2 separate regions of the Homo sapiens genome follow, and region 2 is linked to region 1. The links are contacts of gene promoters, found by promoter capture Hi-C in human tissues and cell types (Jung and others, 2019). All regions are on one chromosome and are shown on one strand. Each heading gives the region's core, a stretch centred on a gene start or on the middle of the fragment in contact. The rest is flanking DNA. Distances are from core to core; before and after follow the strand shown.

Region 1 (2,500 bases), core at 1-2,500:
CTGTGGGGCAGATGTGAAAAATGGAGCTACACCATGAGCAGGCCTGCAGTCCCAGCACTTCTGGAGGCTGAGGTGGGAGGATCACTTGAGCCCCGGAGGTCGAGGAGGCTGCAGTGAGCTATGATTGCACCGCTGCACTCGAGCCTGGATGAAAGAGCAAGACCCTGTCTGTAATAAAACAAAAACAACACACACAAATCCCCACCTCACAAAAGGCCCTATGGCCCAGATTCTGAGAAGTATTTTATTTTAATTTTTTTGTAGAGATGGGGTCTCGCCGTCTTCCCCAAGCTGGCCTTGAATTCCTGGGCTCAAGAGATGCTCCTATCTGGGTCTCTCAATGTGCCGGGATGGTAGGTGGGAGCCACTGTGCCCGGCCAGCCCTGACTCTGTTCATCAGAACCTGCCCTCAGTGAACAGTTTGGGAGGGGGCGTGTGATCCAGGCTCCACCAACCCAAGGCACCCTTGAGACTTGGCTGGAGTGAGGAAGAATTTTAGGAGGGGCCCACTGAGCCACTGGGTTGAGTGTGGGGTCCCTGGAAACACACCAGGGGAGGCTGGTGAGGAAAGAAGCCATCAGAGAAGAAAGGAGAAGCCAGAAGCAGACACTGGACATTGTTCAGGCACCTGGATCAAGCCACACCTGAAGGCGGACATCCCTGAACTTTCCATATAACTTTCATGATTCAGGCTCCACCCAGTTTGTCTGGGTTTTCCTGTCCCTTGTAGCCAGTCTTCCCAGCTGCCTCTGCCTTGGCCTTTCCAACTTTCTATTCGTCAGGGTGTCAAGCCCCAGAGGCCACAGGGACAGAGACAAAGGTGTCAAGTGACCTTCCTACCCCCAACAGACCTTCTCTCTAATATAGAGGAGGAAAAGAAGGGAGGGTAGCAGGACAAGAAAGTGGGTTGTTTACACGCTGTGGCCTCCAGCTAGGATTGTGAAACACCCTGGGGGACTCTGGGTGTGGTGAAGTTGGGGCCGGGGTGGGTGCAGCCCCCCTCTCTGCCTCCTGCCCATCTGAGGGACTGCCCCCCACCAGGGCCAGCAGGCTGTCAGGCTCACAGAGGCCCGAGGGTCTCCCAGCGACTTGTCGACTCTGGTGTGAGTCTGGCAGGAGGTAACCCAGTCCCGGGGAGGGCGGAGGCTGGGCGGGCGAGTTCCCCTTTCCCCAGCTGGGCCGCTGCCCACCCGGGGAGCGGCCCGCCCCCTCCACCCTCATAAAAGCACCCCCAGGGCCCTGCCTGGGTCAGTGTCTCAGCCACAGCGGCTTCACCATGCACAGCTGGGAGCGCCTGGCAGTTCTGGTCCTCCTAGGAGCGGCCGCCTGCGGTGAGGAGGCCTGGGCCTGGGGTGAGGGACAGGGCTGTGTAGGGGCGTGGTGCTCCCTTCCGTCACACGGACGGTCCTCCAGCCCCTCCAGGTGGGCAGGAAGGGGGTGTCTCTCCTCACTAATGGAAGGCTCTGAACGCTGAAAAATTCTAGAAAATTCAGATTGGAAATCGGAACTTTCTGGAGTCAGCTTTTCTTGCAGACAGAGTCTGAACGTCTGCGTGGAAAACTTCATCTGCGTGGCTGACTGGGCTGGCCCAGGCACTGGCTGGGTCAGCCCCATTTCTCTTATGTCCAACTGGAAGGCACTGCGCCCAGGGTAGGGCGCTGGGATCTGCCCCCGGTCCCCAGCCCACTGTGGGTTCTGTACTCTGGGGCATTCCCGCCCGAGGGTATCTGAGTTTGCAACGCTGAGGGGCCCCAAGACGGAAACGGGATTCTTTTTTTTCTTTCTTTTTTTTTTTGATAGGGAGTCTCGCTCTGTCGTCCAGGCTGGAGTGCAGTGGTGCGATCTCGGCTCACTGCAAACTCCGACTCCCGGGTTCAAGCGATTCTCCTGCCTCAGCCTTCCGAATAGCTGAGATTATAGGCCACGCCGACTAAATTTTGTATTTTTTTTTAAAGTAGAGACGGGGTTTCACCATATTGGCCAGGCTGGTCTTGAACTCCTGACCTCATGATCTGCACCCCCCCCTCCCCCCCCGCCCCCGCGCGGCTTCACAAAGTGCTGGGATTACAGGCGTGAGCCACCGCGCCCAGAGATGGGATTCTTGCGGGGAGCGGCCTGGGGGGTGAGAGCTGGGATCCCGTCAGGCAGCCTCGCCCGGGGGAGGAGTCCACCCCGCGGCCCTCACGCGCCCGCCCACCCACAGCGGCGCCGCCCCGTGGTCGGATCCTGGGCGGCAGAGAGGCCGAGGCGCACGCGCGGCCCTACATGGCGTCGGTGCAGCTGAACGGCGCGCACCTGTGCGGCGGCGTCCTGGTGGCGGAGCAGTGGGTGCTGAGCGCGGCGCACTGCCTGGAGGACGCGTGAGTGCCCGCGCCGCGCGGGGGAAGAGCCCGGGTGCGGTGGGGGGAGTCGGCTGGCACCGACCGCGGACTCCGTCCGGTCCCCAGGGCCGACGGGAAGGTGCAGGTTCTCCTGGGCGCGCACTCCCTGTCGCAGCCGG
Region 2 (6,226 bases), core at 1,293-3,792, 1.4 Mb after region 1:
GTGGCCTCGGCCAGGTATTCGCAACACAGCCAGTCCTCGAGGCTGGGAGCTTCCCCACCTGCGGCCCGCTCTGCTAGGCGCAGGACCAGCAGCCCGCGGCGCACCCGCAGCCAGGGCCCGAGCGCTCGGAGCCAGGGACCAAGCGGTGCTCCGCGGCCGCGCAGCTCAGGCCCGGGCCCCCAGAGCAGCGCCTGCAGCGCGCCCCGCGTCCGGGACGCCGAGGGCCGCAAGCGGGTCAGCTGTGCTGCCAGGAGCTCCAGGCCCGCGGCCAAAGGCGTGGTCGAGGGCGCAGCAAGGCTGAGCAGCGCTCGGAGGAGGCTGCCCAGCTGCGGCGCGTGGGGGCCCGGGGATCCCGGGGGTCCAGGGGGCTGCAGACAGACGCGGCCAAAGTCAGTGAGGAGCAGGCGTGGGGGCCCCGTCGTCGCACAGCCCCGAGGTGCCACCAGCAGCAAGTTCTCCGGCCGCAACTCGACTAGGGCCGCGCCCCACGCCTCCAGGAACTTCAGGGCCGCGCTCAGCTGCAGCAGCAGCAGGGCCACAGCCCACACGAACTCCTCCGGCGGCTGCGTGCAGGCCTCCGCCAGCCACTGCGCCACCGTGCGCTCTGGAACCTCGGCTGCCAGCGCCACTGCGCCTCTCCAGGGCGCCCCGGGCAGTGTGCCTTCAGGCACCAGGCCACACAGCCCCTGCAGATTGAAGTGTGGAGACAGGGAGGCCTGCAGCTCCAGGCCCCACGGGTGGGGCACGTCCGCCCCGGGCTTGGGCACCTGCAAGGCAGAGGGGGTGTCGGGGCCTGGATCACTGGGCCCCCCACAAGCACCGCCTGCCCCAGTGCTACCTGCCCCGAAGCCTCCCACGCACACCCCCAAACTGCCCCCACTACGGCTAGGGGCTGCCTGCATCCCTCCAGCAGCAGGAGGTCAGTGTTAATTTGGAAGTTAGTCACCAGTAAGGACTTTCAGGAAAGTTAAGCCAGGGAAGAAGATGTTCCTGGGCAATGAGTTCGAAAGCAGATTCCTGGGCCGGGCGCGGTGGCTCACGCCTTCCCAGCACTTTGGGAGGCAGGGGGATCGCTGAGGTCAGGAGTTCGAGACCAGCCTGGCCAACGCAGGGAACGCTCGTCTCTACTAAAAAATGCAAAACTAGCTGGGCGTGGTGGCGCGCCTGTCATCCCAGCTACTTCGGAGGCTGAGGTGAGAGAATCGCTTGAGCCCGGGAGGTGGAGGTTGCAGTGAGCCGAGAACGCGCCACTGCACTCCAGCCTGGGCAACAGAGTGAGACTCTGTCTCAAAAACAAAAAACAAAACAAAAAACACAAAAGCAGATCCCCGGCCAGAGAGGTGTGGGAGGGGTTTTGACAAGAGCTCCAAGGCCATACCCATGGCCCCATACTTTAGAAACATGGTTTCCTGGGTTAACTGCGTTGATTCACGTGTTAGTTGCAAAATAAACAAGTCTAATATGGTCTGGATCTGTGTCCCCACCAAATCTCATTCCCCAGTGTTGGAGGTGGGGTCTGGTGGGAGGCGACTTGGATCTTGGGGGTGGTTTATCATGAATGGCTCAGCACCATCTCCCTTGGCACTGTCGTTGGGATAACGAGTGAGTTCTCGTGAGATCTGGCTGTGTAAAGGTGAGTAGCACCTCCTCCCTCCCTTCCTCCTGCTCCCACCGTGTGAGATGCCTGCTCCCGCCTCGCCTTCCACTATGATTGGAAGCTTCCTGAGGCCTCCCCAGAAGCAGAAGCCACCAGAACCATGAGCCAATTAAGGCCCTTTTCTCTATAAATTACCCAGTCTCCAGTATTCCTTTTTCTTTTCTTTTCTTTTTTCTTCTCTTTTGTTTTTCTTTTTTGAGACAGAGTCTCACTCTGTCGCCCAGGCTGGAGTGCAATAGCCCAATTTTCGAATCTCAGCTCACTGCAACCTCCGCCTCCCAGGTTCAAGTGATTCTCCTGCCTTAGCCTCCAAGTAGCTGGGACTTCAGGTGCGCACCACCGCGCCCGGCTAATTTTTGTATTTTTAGTAGAGATGGGGGTTTCACTATGTTGGCCAGGCTGGTCTCGAACTCCTGACCTCATGATCTGCCCGCCTTGGCCTTCCAAAGTGCTGAGATTACAGGCGTCAGCCACTGTGCTGCCCAGCCTTTTTTTTTTTTTTTAGACGGAGTCTCGCTCTGTCGCCCAGGCTGGAGCGCAGTGGTGCGTTCTCGGCTCACCGCAAGCTCTGCCCCCTGGGTTCATGCCATTCTCCTGCTTCAGCCTCCCAAATAGCTGGGACTACAGGTGCCCACCACCACGCCCGGCTAATTTTTTGTCTTTTTAGTAGAAACAGGGTTTCACCGTGTTAGCCAGGATGGTCTGTATCTCCTGACCTCGTGATCTGCCCGCCTCGGCCTCCCAAAGTGCTGGGATTACAGGTGTGAGCCACTGTGCCCGGCCTTTTTCTTTTTTTTTTTTTTGAGACGGAGTCTCACTCTGTTGCCCAGGCTGGAGTGCAATGGCCCAATCTTGGCTTACTGCAACCTCTGCCTCCCGGGTTCAAGCAATTCTCCTGCCTCAGTCTCCCAAGTAGCTGGGTTTACAGGCGCCCGCCACCACACCTAATTTTTGTATTTTTAGTAGAGGCTGGGTTTCACCATGTTGGCCAGGCTGGTCTTGAACTCCTGACCTCAGCTGATCCGCCCGCCTTGGCCTCCCAAAGTGCTGGGATGACAGGCGTGAGCCACCGCGCCCGGCTCCAGTATTTCTTTACAGCAGTGTGAGAACTGACTCACAGAAAGGCCAAATGAAACAAGCCCTGGGTTATGTCTAAGATGGGGCACTGGGGACACCTCAGAGAGGGTGGGGCTGTGGGGCTCACCTTGGCGACCAGGATGTGCCAGGCGTCCTCGTGCGCGCGCACCACGCGGTAATACAGGGCGTCCCCGCTCTCTGCGCAGGGTGAGCTGTCTAGGAGGCGGAAGCTGTGGCCGGGGTGGCAGGGCCCGGGGTGGCCCCCCATGAGCCGGGCACGGAGCCGGGCATAGATGGTACGGAGGCCCTGCAGCTGCCGCGCAGCCAGTGCAGTGTGCACAGCCTCCGGGCTGTGCAGATCGCGGAGGGAGAGGCCCAGTGGGGCGTCAGCCGGGCCAAAGGTCAGCTCTGCAGGGAGACAGGCTGGTCCCACTGCAGCCTGGCTCTTGTCCACACTGTGGGACCCCAGAAAGGGTCTCCGAGGCGGCTGTACTTGGATGGAGCTGGGATGGAGGGTCCTGCGGGTGGGCAGTGACTGGGTCCGGGTTAGGATCTTCTTGGGCAGGGGTGGGGGCAGGGGCTCTGGGTTGGTGGAGAGGGACCCAGGGGTCCGGAGGCGGCAGGCCTTGGAGGGCAGCAGGTGGGCACGGATCTGACCTGCAGGGAGAGACAGTGGGGGAGGGTTGAGGACAGGCGGAGTGGGAACGGGACACGTGACTCCACCTCTCAGCCTCGGTTTCCCCATCTCTAACATGGAAGTAATGAGGCTGGGCGCCGGTGGCTCATGCTTGTAATCCCAGCACTTAGGAAGGTGGAAGCCGAGGCAGGAGGATCACTGGAACCTAGGGTTTGAGACCAGCCTGGGCAACATAGTGAGACCCTGTCTCTGCAAAAATTTTTTAAAAATTTGCCGGACGCGGCCATGCACAATGGCTCATGCCTGTAATTCCAGCACTTTGGGAGGCCGAGATGGGTGGATCACGAGGTCAGGAGATCGAGACCATCCTGGCTAACACGGTGAAACCCCGTCTTTACTAAAAATACAAAAAATTAGCCGGGCTTGGTGGTGGGCGCCTGTGGTCCCAGCTACTCGGGAGGCTGAGGCAGGAAAATTGTGTGAACTTGAGAAGTGGAGCTTGCAGTGAACCGAGATTGTGCCACTGCACTCCAGCCTGGGCGGCAGAGCTTACAGAAGGGGAAACTGAGGCTTATAGGAGGATGGATCAGTTTCAGAGAGTGATGCCACCCAGCACTCAGCGACTCCCACTTACCTCCGTGGCTTTGCACAAGCGTCTGTCTTGCTTTTTTTCTTTTTTGAAGTCTTGCTCTGTCGCCCAGCCTGGAGTGCAGTGGCACGATCTCGGCTCACTGCAACCTCCGCCTCCTAGGTTCAAGCGATTCTCCTACCTCAGCCTCCCAAGTAGCTGGGACTACAGGTGCCCGCCCGCCACTATGCCCAGCTAATTTTTGTATTTTTAGTAGAGATGGGGTTTCACCATGTTAGCCAGGCTGGTTTCAAACTCCTGACCTCAGGTGATCTGCCTGACTCGGCCTCCCAAAGTGCTGGGATTACAGGCTTGAACCATTGCACCTGGCCTTTTTTTTTTTTTTTTTTTTTTTTTTTGAGATGGAGTCTCCCTCTGTCGCCCAGGCTGGAGTGCGGTGGCTCAGTCTTGGCTCACTGCACCCTCTGCCTCACAGGTTCAAGCGATTCTCCTGCCTCAGCCTCCCGAGTAGCTGGAATTACAGGCATGCACCACCATGTCTGGCTAATTTTTGTATTTTTAGCAGAGACAGGTTTTGCCATGTTGGCCAGGCTGGTCTTGAACTCCTGGCCTCAAGTGATCCTCCTCCTTGGCCTCCCAAAGTGCTGGGATTAAAGGGTGGGATTACAGGCATGAGTTACCGTGCCCAGCCTCTCTCTCTTTTTAATGGTATATATTTTTTTCTATTTCATGGCTCACTGCAGCCTTGACCTCCTGGGCTCAAGGGATCCTCCCACCTCAGCTTCCCGAGCAGCTGGGACTGCAGGCTCTTGACACCATGTCCATCTCATTTTTTTTGTTTTGTAGAGATGGGGGGCGGGTCTCATTATATTGCCCAGGCCGGTCTTGAACTCCTGGCCTCAAGGGATCCACCTGCCTCAGCCTCCCAAGGTGCTGGGATTACAGGCGTGAGCCACCACGCCCCGCCCACCAACCCACAGGTTATTTTTCAGCCCTGGCCTACTCCGGGCCTTCCCGGAGGTCACTCATTTTACCAGCTGCTGCTGTTCCCAGAGGCCATGGTGCCCGGCAACCTCCTGCCGCTCCCTGCACCCACCTGCCGCTCCCTGCACCCCCCTGCCGCTCCCTGCACCCCCGCAGCCCAGGGCTCCCTGGGGAGCTGCTTACCAAGGTTGCTATACGTGGGCTGAGTCGACCAGGTGGGGTTGTCGGGCTCGGGGGGCTCTGTGGGGGGCTCCGGGCTGCTCATGTTGCTGGGGAAAGGTCAAACGGGGCGTGTGTGGGGTGACCGTGTGCACGCACAGGGCGACATGGGGAGGGGTCCGTGAGTGCTGGGGCCTGGGAGACCGTCGAGGCCTCCTGCTCCAGGGCCCTTGGTGAGAACAGGCGCACCCACACTCCACTCCCTTGTCCAGTTTTGACCCTGCTGTGTGATCCCGAGTGGGTTTCCTGTCCTCTCTGGGCCCCTGCTGTGTGATCCCGAGTGGGTTTCCTGTCCTCTCTGGGCCCCTGCTGTGTGATCCCGAGTGGGTTTCCTACTCTCTCTGGGCCCCTGCTGTGTGATTCTGAGTGGGTTTGCTGCCCTCTCTGGGGCCCTGCTGTGTGATCCTGAGTGGGTTTGCTGCCCTCTCTGGGCCCCTGATGTGTGATCCCGAGTGGGTTTCCTGCCCTCTCTGGGGCCCTGCTGTGTGATCCCGAGTGGGTTTCCTACTCTCTCTGGGCCCCTGCTGTGTGATTCTGAGTGGGTTTCCTGCCCTCTCTGGGGCCCTGCTGTGTGATCCCGAGTGGGTTTCCTACTCTCTCTGGGCCCCTGCTGTGTGATTCTGAGTGGGTTTGCTGCCCTCTCTGGGGCCCTGCTGTGTGATCCTGAGTGGGTTTGCTGCCCTCTCTGGGCCCCTGATGTGTGATCCCGAGTGGGTTTCCTGCCCTCTCTGGGGCCCTGCTGTGTGATCCCGAGTGGGTTTCCTGCCCTCTCTGGGGCCCTGCTGTGTGATCCCGAGTGGGTTTCCTACTCTCTCTGGGCCCCTGCTGTGTGATTCTGAGTGGGTTTCCTGCCCTCTCTGGGGCCCTGCTGTGTGATCCCGAGTGGGTTTCCTGCCCTCTCTGGGCCCACTTCCTCAATCATGAGGCAGGTCTGTCACCCATCAATTTTCCAGGCAGTGGGAAGGACCCCCCTCTGCACGTTTGGGATGGGGACAGAGTGTTCAGCCTGAGGACAGGCCTTTGGGGGTCAGTTGCGGGGGAGACAGTGTCCAGGGACCCAGGG

What was found. The method cuts DNA at HindIII sites, captures the fragments that hold promoters and counts their contacts. A contact is called where the count stands out against the background at its distance.
Region 2: a fragment that was not itself captured here is called in contact with the fragment with the promoter of CFD in region 1 in 1 of the 25 tissues and cell types used here (spleen).

What each region holds. Positions count from the first base shown.
Region 1 is chr19:858,414-860,913 of GRCh38, forward strand. It overlaps CFD (complement factor D), which reads left to right and starts at 1,251. Exons shown (of 5, transcript NM_001928.4): 1 at 1,251-1,331; 2 at 2,204-2,360; 3 at 2,448-2,500. The coding sequence starts at 1,277. The HindIII fragment of the contact is 12,629 bases long and covers 1-2,500 here.
Region 2 is chr19:2,275,723-2,281,948 of GRCh38, forward strand. It overlaps PEAK3 (PEAK family member 3), which reads right to left. Exons shown (of 4, transcript NM_198532.3): 2 at 5,128-5,213; 3 at 2,862-3,391; 4 at 1-767. The coding sequence starts at 5,209. Among named protein-coding and RNA genes, the nearest start is that of PEAK3, 3.3 kb to the right of the region's middle. RefSeq lists enhancers at 1-263, 6,169-6,226. The HindIII fragment of the contact is 7,382 bases long and covers 1-6,226 here.